Linked DNA regions of Homo sapiens: region 2 is linked to region 1. Evidence: promoter capture Hi-C in human tissues and cell types (Jung and others, 2019). All regions are on one chromosome and are shown on one strand. The core of a region is centred on a gene start or on the middle of the fragment in contact, and the rest is flanking DNA. Distances in the headings are between cores, read along the strand shown. Region 1 holds the start of MSANTD3 (Myb/SANT DNA binding domain containing 3). Region 2 overlaps MSANTD3-TMEFF1 (MSANTD3-TMEFF1 readthrough).

Region 1 (5,466 bases), core at 349-2,848:
GCTTGAACCCGGGAAGCGGAGGTTGCAGTGAGCCAAGATTGCACCATTGCACTCCAGCAGACTCTGTCTCAAAAAAAAAAAAAAAAAAAGAAAAGAAAAAGAATGAGGACCAGTATAGCTCTTAGTTTAGGGTCTTTATTTTTATTGGTGCTTCTGCCCTGGATTGTTTTTTGAGGGAAGAAAGAAAGGGTTGCGTGATTCTTTGTACATAGTGAAAACCTAGATCAGTTTTTACTTTAGGGCTATGGATAGTGGGAGTTGGGAGGGCAAGCAATAGTCTCAAAAATGTTCAAGGAATTAAAACACAAAAACGGAAAATTGCAAGTGTTGACAAGGTTGTGGAAACTTGGAACCCTCAAACATTGGTGATGGGAATGTAAAATGATTCATTCAGCTGCTGTGGAAAACTTTTTGGCAGTTCCTGGAAAAGTTAAACATAGAATTACCCTATGACCCAGAAAGTCCACTCCTAGGTATGTATCCAAAAGAACTGGGAACAGGTACTCAAATATGTGTACAGGCATGTTCAGAGCAGCACTATTCACAATAGCCAAAAGGTGGAAGTAACCCAAATATCTATCAAGGGATGAATGAATAAACAAATTATAATATACACATACAATGGGATATTAATCAGCCATAAAAAGGAATGAAGTACTGATCCACGCCTCAACATGGATGAATCTTAAATACAGGCTAAGTCAAAGAAACGACACAAAAGGCCGCATATTGTATGGTTGCATTTATATGAAATACCCAGAAAAAAGTAAACTCACAGAGATAGAAAATAGCTGAGTCGTTGCCAGGGTCTGGAGGAAGGAGGGACTGGGGAATTACTGCTTAATGGAGTATGGATGTTTCAGAACTAGATAGAAGTGGTTGCTCAACATTATGAATGTAATAAATGCCACCAAATCGTTCGCTTTTAAGTGGTTTATGTTATGCGAATTTCACCTCAAAAAAAAAAAAAGTTAAAAAGCCTTCTCTGCCTTTCTCTGGGGTTGGAGTCTTCCCAATGGATCCAGGGCAAAAGAAACATCCAGCCACTCTGTTTGCGGGAGGAGCAAAGGGTGGCTTGTCCCGACAGTTTGAGCTGTTGTGCATGCATTTACACACGCATTAATTCCAAATGAGTCAGCACAGTGTCCGAGACAGGTCCTGGGCTCCAGTGAGCACAGTCGCTCTCCTGGGGGAGGCACGTTCCACAAATTAACAGAAGTTCTGATAAACTCAGCATAGGGGGATTCGCTGTCCCAAGTATCAAGGAGTCCTAAAAGAAAAGGGCCTATTTCAGTCGGGGGACCTGGACTGAACTAACTCGTGTTCATGGCCGCCAAATCCCGTGTGACAAATGTATTCTTTTGTTGTTCATAGAAATAAAACAGTTTTTCGGGCCGCTTCAGGAGCTCCTCTGCAAAGGTGGGGAAAAAAGGCAACTAAATCAGCACGAGGACGTCAGCCCGAGGATGTCAGGAGCGGGGTCGGTGCGGACGGGCAGGTGGGCGGGGGGGCACCCCGCGCCCCGCCCCAGTCCCCTGGAGGCCGGCGGCCGCAGCTCGGGGAAGTGGGGACTGGCGCGGGGCCGCGCTCCCGCCCTCCTCGGCGGCGCCGACGGACCGGCAGGCGGCGGGCGGTCCGCGAGGGGGCGGCGGCGTCCGGGCTTTGTGGCCGCGGCGCGCGCGGCGGGGCCTGGCCGGCCGGGGGCGCGCCGCCGCCGCCGCCGCCGCCCGGCGTTCGGGAGCCCGCGGCCCTCCCGGCCGCCCTGCTTGCGAGAGGAGCCCAGGCCGCCCGCCCTCGCGCCTCGCCGGCCCCTCCCCCGGTCGCCGCGGCTGCCGCGCCGCCGCTGCAGGTAGGAGGCTCCCCTTCCGGGCGGGCCGCAGCCGGGCGGGGGCGGGGGTGGGGGGCGCGGGCCGGGCGTAGAGGGGGCCGGGGGCCGGCATGGAGGGTTTTCGGGCCGAGCCGCTGCGACCCCGGCCTTGCAGGCTGGGCGCCGGGCGGCCGCCTCTGCGCGCCGCGATGGGACTCGGTGAGTAGGGCCGGCCTGCTGCCTACAAAGCCCCGGGGCGCGGGCCTCTGGGGTACTCAGTGGCGCGCCCACGGCTGGGAGCGGGGTGGGCTTTGGACTCCCGGGCTCGGGGAGCTGCTCGGGGGGAATCCAGGTGACCTGCAGTACCGCGGTCTTCCCATCCCGGCGTCCCCACTGTGTGCTGATCACTGTGCTCGGCGCTTTTCCATACTTGTCTCCTTTAAGACCTCCAGTGCCCCGCCCGTCCAGAGTGTAACGGGAGGGATCCCTCACTTGCAGGATGAAGGCCGAGCATCACATCCTTGCTTGACTGACCTTGGGAAAGCTCCTTTACTCCGAGCCGGGGCTACTGTTTCTGTAAATTAGAGGCGGGGGTCGGGGGGGCGTGGTATAATATCTACCCTCAGGTACTATTGTGAAAGATAATGTATGTAAATGATAACAGCTAAATTTTGAGCACTCTGTATGTACCAGGCCCTAGGTACTAAACAGTTGGCATGAATTATCATTGAATCATCACCCTGGCGCTGTGAGGTAGTTACTGTAAATTGCATGAATAATCTTTATTTAGGAGTACGAAACAGTGAAGAATTTAGTCTCCCTATTCCGATTCAGGAGGTTGGGTATTTCTTAGGCGTGATAACATTTAACATTACAGACGTTCCTGCAGTATCGAGGAGAGTAGTTATAGGATGCAGGGATATATTTGTCATACATTTAAAACTGGAGGTAGGATAATATCAGGGCCAGAGAGTGTGCCTTTCAGCATGTCAGAGCAGATGATTGTATTCCAAGGAAATTGCTGAATATTAATTAAAAAACATAGTTTCTGAGTTAGGATTGAGGATGGCTGTGGGAGTCCAGGGCCAGAGAGAGACATGGGATGGACAAGGGGGAGAAGAAGGATTCTGAAGTCCTGGAGGAAGATGTAGAGGAAGGCACCAGGGTTCACCATCCCTCCCCTGCAGCATTGCTGGGCCAGATTTCATCCCTCCCGTAGAGACCCGGGCTAGGGGACAAAGGCTGCTGGGGCAGGGGGTGGGGAGGGATGTTATAGGTTGTCTCTTTTTACTCCCAGGCCGCCAAAAATATTCAGATTGATGGAGGGTCAGGTGATTGGGCCTCCTAAAATGCCATTATCCCTTCTCACAAAATTCTTGTGTTTCAGGGCATGGGGATGCTTGCCAGCCCTAATGGTTGATGAGATGCTTAAAATACAAAGGTCTCACTGATATAATGGAAGAGTGCATTTTCAACACCATTCACTGGGTTAGAGAAGTAATGGGCCTGAGGAGATTATTTTGGGTTTAGAATGGGGAGAACTAAAAAGGCTTTGGATCCTGAAGAAGGAAGAGAGGCAGGAAGGGCCCAGGCACTGCACCTGTGGGGAAAGGCAGGAGAAGAAGGAGCTGAGGACTTCACCCCACCATCTGCAGAATACCCAACAGGCTGTTCAGTTCTCAGCTACCAAGGGGGCACCCTTTCCTCTCCCAGTTGGTGATGATTTGTTAACGTATTGTGGAAGATCAAGGGCTGGACTCAGGCACTCCTGTCCTGAGTGAGTAGGAAAGACGTCTGGGAGAAGGGTGGTTTATTTTGTTTTTAACCAGGCATTGAAGCAGAGAGTAGGTGGGTACGTAGCGATGGTGAAGGTAGGGAACATCATGCATACTTGGAAGAGCAATTGCTTTGGAGAGATAGACAGTTTGGGGTTTGAATCCTAGCTCTGCCATTTCTTAGCTTTGTACATTTTTTGTGAGGATAAAATAATGTTTTTTCACATATCTGGCGTGCAGTTCAACAAGCACTAGTACCGTATTCCCTGTCCGTGATAACATTCATTCAACAAATGTCTGCTGAGCACCAGTCATGTGCTGAGTCATATGTTACATCCTGGGGATACAGCGATGAGTCAGAAATTATGTATTCCCCTAGGAATTTCCCAGTCCAGTGTGGGAGATGGACGCAAAGAGCAAATTGCAAAAAATATGGGAAGTGCTACAGTACAGTCATGTACAACTGTCAGTGAGCTCATAGAAGAGTAACTCATTCTGAGCCAGTGGGAACTCAGGGCCAATCTATATCTAACAAGGTGAGTATGAGACCTTATGACACAGGTTTTTGTTTTTTGTTTTTGTTTTTTTTTTGGGGGGGGACAGTCTCGCTCTGTTGCCCAGGCTGGAGTGCAGTGGCATGATCTCGGCTCACTGCAGTCTCCACCTCTTGGGTTCAAGCGATTCTCTTGTCTCAGCCTCCCAAGTAGCTGAGATTACAGGCACCTACCACCACGCCCAGCTAATTTTTGTAGTTTTAGTAGAGGTGGGGTTTCACCATGTTGGCCAGGCTGGTCTCAAACTCCTGACCTCAGGTGATCTGCCCACCTTGGCCTCCCAAGGTATTGGGATTATAGGCGTGAGCCACCGTGCCCAGCTATGACACAGGTTTTGAATGCTCCTTTACCACCTAACTTTGATCTCTTTTACCTTTGTCTTATCTTTGCCCTGCTAGTCTCTCCTCTCTCTCTCAAAAAAAAAAAAAAAAAAATCTAGTTGCAGTGTGTGTGTAATTTGTAAGCTGCTTCAAACCCATTTTAGAAGGAAGCCGTTATAAAGAAAATAAACATAACAGACTGGGTATTAATTGAGGAAGGCTTAACAAAAATTGCATGAGAGTTGGGCTTTGAAGATTGAAAATGGGCCGGGCGCGGTGGCTCACGCTTGTAATGCCAGCACTTTGGGAGTGAGACTCTGTGTCAAAAAAAAAAAAAAAAAAGAGAGATTGAAAATGGGCCCTTGGTGGCCTTGGGGTAAAGGATTCCAGCCAAAGGAAGCCGCGTGTTGAGTTTGGTCTGGTTAGGTTGAAAATACATGGAGAGAATGAGGGGCTGGTGGGGGTGCTATAATCAGGACCAGATCCGGAAAGGCCATGAATGCCATGTGAAGAGTTGGGACTTTTATCGTTTAGGCAGTGGGAGAGACGTCTGAGGTTTACAAGGAGGCCTGTGGCTTGATCACTGTGTTTTAGGAAGATCCCTGTAGTTGTGTGGAAGAGGGTATGGAAGTTTGGGAGACCATTTTAGAGATTAGCTCTGTCCACAGACATGGGCAGTGAGAATGGGAGAGGAGGGAACAGATGTTTGGGTAAAATGTACCATAGGTCTTGTTAATTAGTTGCATGTGATTGAAGATTACATTTCTGCTTTGGGAAGCCAAGTTGATGTGGCTGACATCATCAGAAATCAGGAGATTTTGGTGTATGGGGAATAATTAGTTTGGTTTTGGCTATGGAGAGTTGGAGTTTTCTGAGGTACCCATAGTGGGGCACAGAGGTGGCTGATAGATAATTGGAAATGTGTTTGATGCTAAGGAGAGAGGTTGAGGCTTGGAAGAGAGGTTCTTCCATCACTGCCACTTTATTCTTTTTCTTTTTTTCTTTTTTTT
Region 2 (5,405 bases), core at 1,950-4,449, 150 kb after region 1:
ATCCCCTGACCAACATGTCCTCAAAGCACCTCCTACCACACCAGTCCCTGGTAACCACTATTCTACTCTCTACTTCTATGAGATCAACTTTTTTAGGTTCCACATATGAGTGGGATCACTCAGTATATGTCTTTCTATGCTTGGCTTATTTCACTTAATATAATGTTCTGGAGGTTCATCCATGCAAATGATAGGATTTCCTTCTTTTTTATGGCTGAATAGTATTCCATTTTGTATATATACCTCATTATTTTATCCATTTATTTGTTAATGGACACTTAGATTAAATCCATATCTTAGCTATTGTGAATAATGCTGCAATAAACGTGGTAGTGCAGATATTTCTTCAATATACTGATTTTATTTCCTATAGTTATATACCCAGTAATGAGATTGCTGGATCATATGGTAGTTTTATTTTTAATTTTTTGAGGAACTTCCATACGGTTTTCCATAATAACTGTATCTTATGTTTTTTTTCTTCAGAGTTTTATAGTTTTAGCTCTTACGTTTAGATCTGCGATCCATTTTGAGGCAATTTTTGTGTATGACACGAGGAAGAGGTCTAGCTTCATCCTTTTGTGTGTGGATATCCAGTTAGCACCATTTGTTGAAGAAACAGTTCTTTCCCCATTGAGTTATCTTAGCACCCTTGTCAAAACCAATTGACCATAGATGTATGGGTTTATTTCTAGGCTCTCCATTCTCTTCCATGATCCACATACCTGCCCACTGCTTGTTTTTTTTTGTTTGCTGGAAAGCGTAGAGCCCAATGTGAAATGTACTGGGAAGTGTCTAGGAACCTCAGGGACTGGATTGGTAGACTTGCAGCACCCCTGGATTTCCCTGTTTCCCTCCTCCCACATTTCTTTTTTGTTGTTTTAATGTGTGCTTTGCGATAAGCTGCCTCAAATTCTTTTCTTAATGAGTTGTGGGACATTCATAAATACTGTTTTTATACTTCAAATGTTTTATTAATCAGTTCTCACTGAAGGCTGGCTAATTTATACATTTCACTGCTGTCAGCTTAAAAATGTAAATTGTCTGTTAAGTGTCTTAAATATTTCTCCCTGTCAAATTATCATCAGCTGATGCAGTTGTCTTTTTATCTACTTTTAATTGGAATTCAGATAATTTCCAAGATTAGCACCTACAGCTTACCTCCTTGACTGCTTGACATTGTTTCTGTTATTAATAACTTATTTTCATCTTCCCCTTGCATCTTACATGTTTATATTTTATACACTGAAAAGTGTCTTGAATATAATTTGGTGCTATGTTCAGAGGACTGTAAATGTTTATACCTATTTTTTCAATAGTCTTAATTTTCAGGTACTTAGCCCTAAGGAATAACACTAAATATAGAAAAGCGCATATTCACCAAGATGTTTACCACATCTAATTTATAATTGTGAAAAATTGAAAATAACTGACATGTCTTAGAACTGGGAATAGATAATGCTAGCTATATTATAGTCACTGGATGGAGTATTATATTTCTGTTTTGAAATTATATGTATCTATTTTGAAAAAAATGCTAAGAGAGTAGATTTTAAGTGTTCTCACCACAGACATGATAACTATATGAGGTAATGCATATGTTAATTAGCTTGATTTAGCCATTCCACAATGTCTATACATTTCCAAATATCATGTTGTACATCAGTGGTCCCCAACCTTTTTGTTGCCAGGGACTAGTTCCGTACAAGACAGTTTTTCCATGGACTGGGGATTGGGGGTGGGGGTGATGGTTTGGGGATGATTCAAGTGCATTACATTTATTGTGCACTTTATTTCTATTATTATTACATGGTAATACTTAATGAAATAATTATACAACTCACCATAATGTAGAATTGGTGGGAGCTCTGAGCTTGTTTTTCCTGCAATTAGACAGTCCCATCTGGGGGTGATGGGGGACGGTGACAGATCCTTAGGCATTAGATTCACATAAGGAGCACTCAACCTAGATCCCTTGTGTGCGCAGCTCACAATAGGGTTTGCGCTCCTATGAGAATCTAATGCCAGTGCTGATCTGACAGGAGGCGGAGCTTGGGTGGTAATGTGAGTGATGGGGAGTAGCTGTAAATACAAAGAAGCTTTGCTTACTTGCCCACCACTCACCTCCTGCTGTGTGGCCTGGTTCCTAACAGGCCATGGACCAATATCTGTCCATGGCCCGGGAGTTGGGGGGGATCCCTGTTGTACATGATAAATATACGTAATTTTATTTGTCAATTTTTAAGCAAATTTAATTTAAAAAGTGAAAAAAAGGAGTAAATCTTTGTGGCTTTAGATTAGGCAATAATTTCTTAGATATGACACCAAAAGCAAAAGCAACAATAACAAAAAAAGATATACATTAACAATATTCAGCAACTTTAAAATTAATGTGATATAACTTAGGTGAAAGACGCACCATGTAGGCATATCAGAAAGACAGTAGGGAAACATACAAATGACATTTTTCCCCCAGATGGTAGGAAAGTGCATGATATCCTATTCCTGTTTAAATTTTATTACTATTTTGTATTTTTTAATGTAAAAGCTTGGGAGTATCAAAATTTGTAATTTTCATAGGAATATATATATTTTTCCTTTTCAGATGTGAATCTGGCTACACTGGACAGCACTGTGAAAAGACAGACTTTAGTATTCTCTATGTAGTGCCAAGTAGGCAAAAGCTCACTCATGTTCTTATTGCAGCAATTATTGGAGCTGTACAGATTGCCATCATAGTAGCAATTGTAATGTGCATAACAAGGTAGGTAATGATGTAAGAAATATCAACTTTAAATTAGAGGCAGGCAACTGTTTATTTATAGATGCTTTGAGGCCACCAGTCTATTAGGAAAAATCTTATGATCAGTTCCCTGAGGTTTTCAGTGGTCTCTCCCTATCCTTCTTCTTTAGGATACGGGCAGGGACTAATTCCCAGTCTTACAGGTATATCTGGGCGACAAGCAGAGAGGGAATGAGAATAGTCAATGAGATAAAGGAATTTAGGGATCTGAGAACTGTATACAGTCTTTGAACACTGTATTCTGGGAAAATAATGTTAGTAGCAATCTTTTTTTTTTTTTTTTAAGAGACAGGGCCTCACTCTGTTGCCCAGGCTGGAGTGCAGTAGCAATTAGAGCTCATTGCAGCCTCAAATTCCTGGGCTCAAGTGGTCCTCCAGAGTAGCTGAGACTATAGGCGTGAACCACCCTGACTGGCTCAGAATTTCTAGAATGATCTGCACATGCATAGGAGATCCATGCAGAAGATTTTTAAGCCCTGCACAACTGCAAGGGGTTCTGTGCCCTAAGAACGTACTTTACTCACAGTTAGTATAGTAAGAAAGGAAGAAATCAGAGGCTGAAGATAGTTTTATTGTGATATCATGGTGTTAACATTACTTCATTTTCAGGATTGCAGCGATAAGTAATAAGCTTTAAAATTCTGTATTATAAATAAAATTATTCGTCATAAATTAAATGACTTATTTGGAGTGCAGTGGCATAAAATGGGTCTTTTCTAAACTGAGTAGAAATACATAAGTCAGACTGAACTGGGCCTGAGAAAAGTCAGAGTAAATCCAGCAAGTTCGTGTTGTCTTTGTGCTTCCCAGTCTAATGCTTTTCTTCCTGCTTACCTCTTTCTTTAAGCTTCAGTTCAGAAGTCTCATAAGCATCATTTCTCCACTTCCCTGCATTATTCTGGGCAGAGGGTTGAAGCATATCAAATACAGATATTGGCAGGCCATAATGGATTTGTGGCCCTTCTATCCAAGGTCTGGATAGAAGCCAGACCTTCAGTAGTCTCAGCCATCTGGAGCTGAGATGATAAATCTAGAAATGATAAAAAAGAAAAGGTTCTCCAAGTAACAGATATTTTTCATAACACCTAGGCATGAAAGTCAGTGCGCTTTATTTCACAGAACAGATGATCTGCCCTTAGGCAAGACTACTGAATATAAAATTGGACGGTAGATCAAAGTAGGGACATAATCATGTAACAAATAATGATAACAGAAAGAGAAGATAGGGAAAACACATTTAACAGCATGACTGGCTGTAGCCATTTAATATAGACTCAGAGGTTAAGTAATTTGTCTGTGGTCATCCGACTAGTAAGTGGAATTGTCTGGATTTGGATTCAGTTTGATTCCCATTCATTCTTTACACTGAAAGGTTCCATGTTGAGTCATCTTGGGAAACATGTTTGCCCAGTATGACCATTGCATGGGAGCAGGGTTCAAACTTGATTTTGTAGCAGTTTAGGGTTTTTGAGCAGGGGAAGGACTTGGTATAAACCATATTTTTCAGAGTATTAATGAGTCATCTGAAAAATTCATTGGAGTAGTGAACATATGAGGTAGGGGGAAGACCATTTAAGTCATTATTAGAGTTAAATAGGAGTGAGGTAATGAATGATTTGGAAGGCAGAAGGAAAATTAAGGTAAAGTAAGGGGAGATGTTTGAGGCCTGGAGATAGTGCCTTTATTTGAGACAGGGTCTCACTCTGTCATTCAGGCTGGAGTGCAGTGGCATGATCTTGGATCATTGCAACCTCCACCTCCTGGGCTTATCTCAACCTCCCGAGTAGCTGAGACTACAGGCATGCGCCACCATGCCTTGCTAATTTTTGTATTTTTTTTTTTGTAGAGACTGGGTTTGGCCATGTTGCCGAGGCTGGTCTTCAACTCCTAGGCTCAAGTGATCCACCTGCCTCGGTCTCGCAAAGTGCTGGGATTGTGCCCAGCCAGATAGTGCCATTTTTAAGAGGATCAAAGGATGTCAGAGTCAATGAGAAACAATTCTGAGTTCAACCCCTTCATTTAGAGAAGTTGGGAAACTGAAGCCCTGAGATAAGAAGTACCTTGGTCTAAGGTCCTAGAGCTAGGAAAGCCCCCTTACAACAGTCTTTTACCCAACTCTTTCAGTGCTATAATGCTCAACTACTCAATTAAAATTACCTGGCAGGCAGTTTTGAAGTAGGTACCCTCTAGTTTATACTCCAGATCCCTCCTTGTTGCCCTCACAGCCACTTAGACATCACAGTGTATTTCTAACTATGTCACAGTGTCTTTACTGCCCACTGTCTCTACGATTGAAGAGTCATCTCATTGAATTTATCACAGATTTCTCCTGGAGGCCTGTCTTTTTATTATGGTATTTCCTCCCCTAGAATGTCTTGCTATCTTGGATTTAGAACATTTATGTACTTGGATTTATTTCCATTGAGTTTTTAAGTATCTCTCCCACACAGTCCATTATGAGACAGCTGTTGACATATACCGTGGCGGCTGTCACATGGGAGGAATCTTCTTTAAAAGGATGTTCCCACTGACCTGTTTATCAAGACTGCATGAGTCAATTTTTCTTTTTTTCTTCTTCTTGGAATCGCCTTTCATATTTTCA

Evidence for each region. Contacts are between HindIII fragments. The study calls those that stand out against the background at their distance.
Region 2: a fragment that was not itself captured here is called in contact with the fragment with the promoter of MSANTD3 in region 1 in 1 of the 25 tissues and cell types used here (pancreas).

The regions. Positions count from the first base shown.
Region 1 is chr9:100,425,545-100,431,010 of GRCh38, forward strand. It overlaps MSANTD3 (Myb/SANT DNA binding domain containing 3), which reads left to right and starts at 1,599. Exons shown (of 3, transcript NM_080655.3): 1 at 1,599-1,849. RefSeq lists silencers at 1,436-1,665, 1,706-1,935, 1,976-2,095. The HindIII fragment of the contact is 14,283 bases long and covers 1-5,466 here.
Region 2 is chr9:100,569,913-100,575,317 of GRCh38, forward strand. MSANTD3-TMEFF1 (MSANTD3-TMEFF1 readthrough) reads left to right here. Exons shown (of 10, transcript NM_001198812.1): 9 at 2,606-2,764. TMEFF1 (transmembrane protein with EGF like and two follistatin like domains 1) reads left to right here. Exons shown (of 10, transcript NM_003692.5): 9 at 2,606-2,764. Among named protein-coding and RNA genes, the nearest start is that of CAVIN4, 5.5 kb to the right of the region's middle. The HindIII fragment of the contact is 5,125 bases long and covers 638-5,405 here.